2 separate regions of the Homo sapiens genome follow, and region 1 is linked to region 2. Evidence: promoter capture Hi-C in human tissues and cell types (Jung and others, 2019). All regions are on one chromosome and are shown on one strand. The core of a region is centred on a gene start or on the middle of the fragment in contact, and the rest is flanking DNA. Distances in the headings are between cores, read along the strand shown. Region 1 has its middle 40 kb from the start of DMRTA1. Region 2 holds the start of DMRTA1 (DMRT like family A1).

Region 1 (2,700 bases), core at 12-2,511, 40 kb after region 2:
GTTGTTACATGTGAAATGGCACTCCTGAAGACAGCACATGGTTGGGTCTTGTCTTTTTATCCTTGTTGCCACTCTGTATCTTTTAAATGGGGCATTTAGTCCATTTACATTCAAGGCTAGTATTCATATGTGAGACTTTAATTCTGTCTTCATGTTGCTAGTTGGTTGTTTTGTAGATTTGATTGTTTAGTTGCTTTATAGTGCCCATAGGCTATGTGCTTAAGTGTGTTTTTGTGGTAGCAGGTGTTGTTCTTTTGATTCCATGTTTAGTGTTCCCTTAAAGACCTCTTATAAGACTGGTCTAGTTAAAATGAATCCCTCAGCATTTGCTTGTCTGAGGAGGATCTTATTTCTCCTTCACTTATGAAGCTTAGTTTGGCAGAATATGAAATTCTTCACTGGAATTTCTTTGCTTTAAGGATGCTGAAAATAGGTCCCCAGTGTCTTCTGGTTTATAAGGTTTCTGCTGAGAGGTCTGCTGGTAGCCTAATGGGGTTCCCTCTGTACATGACTTCCCCCTGCTTTCTAGCTGCCTTTAAGATGCTTGCTTTTGTGTTGTCCTTGGTAAATCTGATGACCATATGCCTTGGGGATGATTGTCTTGTATAGTACATAGTCAGGGTTCTCTGTATTTCTTGAATTTGCATGTCAAGTTCTCTAGTGATATTAGGGACATTTTCATGGACTATATCCTCAAATATATTTTCCAAATTGCTTATTCTCTCTTTCTCAAGAATGCCAAAGAATTGAAGACTTGGTCTCTTTACATAATCTCATATTTCCTGAGTTTTTGTTCATTTTTTTAAAATTATTTTTTCTTCCTTTTTATTTAAGTTGATTCAAAGGACAGGTCTTCAAGCTCTGAGATTCTTTCCTCAGCTTGGTCTATTCTTCTGTCAATACTTCTGATTGAGTGTATTATGAAATTCTTGTAGTGAATTTTTCAGCTCTAGAATTTCAGTTTGGTTCTTTCTTAAAATAGCTATTTTGTCTTGGATTGTTTTAGTAGATTCCATGGATTGAATTTCAACTTTCTCCTAAATCTCAATGAGCTTCCTTGTCATTTAGATTCTGAATTCTATATGTCTCATTTCAGTCATCTCAGACTGGTTATATACCATTGCTTGGGAGGTAGTGGATTCATTTGGAGGTAAAAGGACACTGGCTTTTTAGCTCAATCAGATGAGATCAGCACATTTTAGGTGATATAGCCATAGACATGAAATTGCCAGAGTTCTTGCTGATTCTTTCACATCTGAATTATTGCCCTTGGTTTCACAAAGGAATATGCTATCAAAATATTTTTAGTGATGTATTATAGTTTGGGCTGTGATCCAGTAGATGGTGCTTAACAGTAATGGGCAGTAAACAGGCTTTTAGCCACAGAGCTCCTCTATATTTCCTTGCATTTGCAGCCATGTTAATTGCTAGAGGGAGGCAAAGAGGTGACTCCTTCACCAGGTCCATTCCTGGGCCTCGTGGACGCCCTCTCTGATCACTGGCACTGACCTGCATTTCTTCTGTTAGGTGTTCCAGGCCATGGGGCTCCCTGGGCAGAGGTCAGTTCCAGGTCAATCCTGCAGAAGGAGGCACAACCTAGTCTTGCTCTAGCCCATGAACTTATGCATCTCAATCCCCTCAGTTTTCTGGGAGTGTAGACTCCCACTTGAGTGCTGGCCACAAATCGCAGCTTGGCACTCCCAAGCTGTGCACTGCAACCCTGAAGTGCCAGGATCAGCTTGTGACTTTGACCTCTGGACCCTTGGATTCGAGTTCTGGGTGCCCTAGGGAATCCAAAGTGTTCTCAGCCTGCTGGAAAAGTGAATCGGTGGAGCGAAGCAACCAGACCGGGTAGCAGAGGCTGTGCTGTGCACATGTTCCCGCACGGCAGCCAGACAGGGGCCCTGGGAGGAGCTGGCAGGCAGGAGGGCCTGCTGAACAGATGTGCCCCGGTCCCACAGGGAAATGCCCCACTTTCTCCTCGCCTGTCAGTCAGCAGGGGCTAGAACTTCTCGGAGGGAGATGGGGAGCTCTGAGGGATGAGCGCCTGTGGCCATGCTCAGCCAAAGCTGCACTGTGCACAAAGACCCGTGGGTTCCTCCACTGCTAAAGCTCCTCTCTGTCTACTCTCTAGGAAGAACCTCCTGTCAACTTAAATGTCCATGGGGGATATGGGACTCGCTGTAGCCTGGATCCCAGAGGTCCATGGCAAAGCTAGGGAGTCCCACAGTCCCTTAACTCACCCATTCCCAAGGAGCCATTTAGGGCAAGGAAGCAGCTTCAGCATTTTGGTACCCAACAAAGGGTCCTCTTCTCTCTTCAGCCTCAGTGTCTGCATCTCATCTTTATCCATTCTTAGCATTTTCTCTTTGAAGATCAGTCCAGTATGTTGGTTTACTTAAAACCTTGGTTTCTCTTGGTAGGGGCAGTGCTTTCTGGTTGTGTCTAATCAGCCATCTTGTCCCCAGGATCCTGTTTGGTTTCTATACCTAATAGAGTTCTTTTACAATTCTCTCACATTACTGCTTATAAAAGTGGTTCATTCCTTTTTAATGCTGAGTAATAGTCCATTACATTGATATTTTTGATTTGTCTTTTTGCTCATCAGATAATGGATATTTAGGTTATTTCTAATTTAGGGCTATAAAGAATAAAGCTTCTATAAATATTCTATACAGATCTTTGTGCAGACATCTGTTT
Region 2 (2,700 bases), core at 182-2,681:
CTCTGGTTTTACAGCTGAAAACAGTCCAGAGCAGGGAGGATCACCTGAGCCTGGGGAGGTTGAGGCTGCAGTGAGCTGTAATGGCGCCACTGCACTCCAGCCTGGGCAACAGAGTGAGATCCTGTCTGGAAAGAGTACAGAGCAGACTCAAACACAGCACCTCTTACGAAGCTTTTCGCTCAATGCCTGCTTGAAGTTCTACTCACACAGTGAAAGTCAAATCAACTTCCGAGTAAATAACTCTACTCCTAGGGTGAATTGCTCATTTGTTACCACCCATGCTTCATTTTTTCATTATCTCATCCTATCACCTGAGGGAACAACAGTAAATTCCTCCAAAGTGAAGGCGATGGGGTCTCTCACACTCTCATTAATGTCCATATTGCTGAGCAGTTCCCCAAAACTTAAAGTGTTTCTTTTAAACAACTATTCCTGCCCGCCTATGGACACGGTGGCTTGTTTCAGAGTTTCTTTCCAGAACAACCATTCCTTGAGCAAAGAGTAAATCAAAGACCAACTCACCTTGTTTTTCCTCAGGATAATCTTGCTGGAAAACTTCGAAAGCGGGGGTCGCGGAACCACTGGCCTGTCTCAAGGCACCCAGTCCCAGCGCAGCCCCCGCCGCAGGGCCGCCCGTGGACTGTGGATTCTCGGCTCTGCCGCCGCCCCCGGATGCCCGACCACCGGGGGGCCAGGAGAGCCCCGAGCACAGGAGCCTCTGTAGCCCCCGGGCTTCGCTCTCCTCCTGCGCCTGCTGCCTGCGCAGCGCCACCTGGGCGGCCATGACGCGCTGGCGCTCGGCGATCAGGGTGCACTTGGCACACGCGCAGTCCCGCCAGCGGCAGAAGCGCTTGTGGCCCTTGAGCGCTGACACCACACCATGGTTACGACAGCGGGCGCACTTGGGCGTCCGCGGGTAGCCGCAGCCCACCGCGCCTACCCCGCTCTCCAGCCCGGGAGCCGGCGGGCAGCCTCCGCTTCCCGAGGTGGCGGCAGCGGCGGCGGCGGCCGCGGCCGCTGCTCGCAGAAAGAGGCTGGGCGGCCGCAGGAACGCTGGGGGAACCTGCATCCCCGATGGTACCGGCAACGCCGGGGACGGGGGCGGAGGGGCAGCCACCACTAGCCCAGGGGCCAAGTGAGGTCGGCCGCTAACGCCTCGGTCTCTGCTGCCACACTGTGACCGCTCCATTCCCGAGAAATTTCTGGCCGGGAGTCCCAAGTGGAAAGTGCGCTGACCGCAGCTAACCCTGCTGGGAGGCTGGGGAAGCCGGGGCAGGACGCGCCGTGGTCCTACTGAGCTCCACCCGCGCACGGACAAAAGTTTTACACTCTTTCCACTCGGAAGGAGTTGGGACGACCGCGTCCTGGAGCTGGAGACGCTGAGAGGTGCAGCTGTCCCGTGAGCCTGGCAGAGACCCCGGGCGCTAAGTTAATGCCTTTGTGCCTCCAGCCAAGAAGGCAAGGCTAGAGAGGCTACCCCGCCCACCCAGGCTCCCGGCCCAGCGCGGAAGCCGGGGGAGGGCCCGGGGCGGGGAGTGGGGACCTTCTGGGAGGAGGGCGGCGGGGAATCCGTCCAATGGGCTGCAAATGTCTCCTCCCCCAAAAAAAGCCCGTTTCTACTTGCTTCCCTAGGAGTTCTCGACGTCTATTTTTGTAAACTAGCCTTTGCAGCCTCCCCTTTTACTGCCCTTTTGAAATTAAGCAGAGTTTGAATTTCTCCTTTTCCCACTTCCACGCTTCTCCTAAGAAAGTCTGAAGATTTGGATTTTGAGTTCTCCTTTCGGGTTCCCAGATGAAGTCTTCATGTCTGCAGCAGTTTGGCCAATGTTAGTGGGATCCCAGCTTGATAGACTACGAATTTGTTACCCACCAGAAAGATGCCTTATTTTAAATGGGTCTTAGGACAGCATCAAAACAATGGATAAATAACTAAGGGAAGTGATTCACATTCAGATTCTTTTCATGCATTCTATTTATTTACACATGCGAATTTGGGTTGTGTGTACTCTATTTTAAAATACTGCTACTTTAAAAAAGTTATCAAACTCTTCTCTGCGCCTATTTATAGGCAGCGATTGTGTTAAAGCTGTTTCAAAAATACTTATGTCTATTGTAAAGTATTGGGGAAAGTCGTTTAGATCATTATTTAAATATGCTGTCATGAATGCATTCTTCACATATGAATTTAATGCCTTTAATTATAAGAAAAGACCATAAGGCGTTTAAGTCAAAAGAGCATCTGAGATAGAAAATTCATGAATGTTTATTCTTAATGGAAGGTAGCGTCAGCACTCTGCCAGCTCTTCAAGATGGTATCCAACTACCTTGGACAAGTTATTCATTTTCCATCCCTAAGATAGCAATTAATAATGATATTTTTACCATTCCACCTGTTCACATTCAGAGCAGATATTGCTGATCTATCTGGCCTTTCTCCTACCAACCTACTCAACACCATCACCACCACTACCATCCTCTCATACAAACATCCTATCGTAGAAGTTTTCCACCCTTCCTAAGAACTGGAACTACCTAGGGAACTTTTAAAAGAGATGGACACTCCAATCTACGTAATGTATTCTGATTCTTTTTGTCTGTGTCTTAAACTCTGAAGGTGAAAATTACATACAATGTTTAGAACTACCACTCAAGGAATTCCTAACCTCTGGGGGTTCTATGATATCCAACCTTTCTCACAAC

The links. Contacts are between HindIII fragments. The study calls those that stand out against the background at their distance.
Region 1: a contact is called between a fragment that was not itself captured here and the fragment with the promoter of DMRTA1 in region 2, in 1 of the 25 tissues and cell types used here (pancreas).

What each region holds. Positions count from the first base shown.
Region 1 is chr9:22,405,469-22,408,168 of GRCh38, reverse strand. No RefSeq gene overlaps it. Among named protein-coding and RNA genes, the nearest start is that of DMRTA1, 40 kb to the left of the region's middle. The HindIII fragment of the contact is 4,176 bases long and covers 1-2,700 here.
Region 2 is chr9:22,445,555-22,448,254 of GRCh38, reverse strand. DMRTA1 (DMRT like family A1) reads right to left here and starts at 1,431. Exons shown (of 2, transcript NM_022160.3): 1 at 523-1,431. The coding sequence starts at 1,189. RefSeq lists an enhancer at 756-1,255. The HindIII fragment of the contact is 10,852 bases long and covers 1-2,700 here.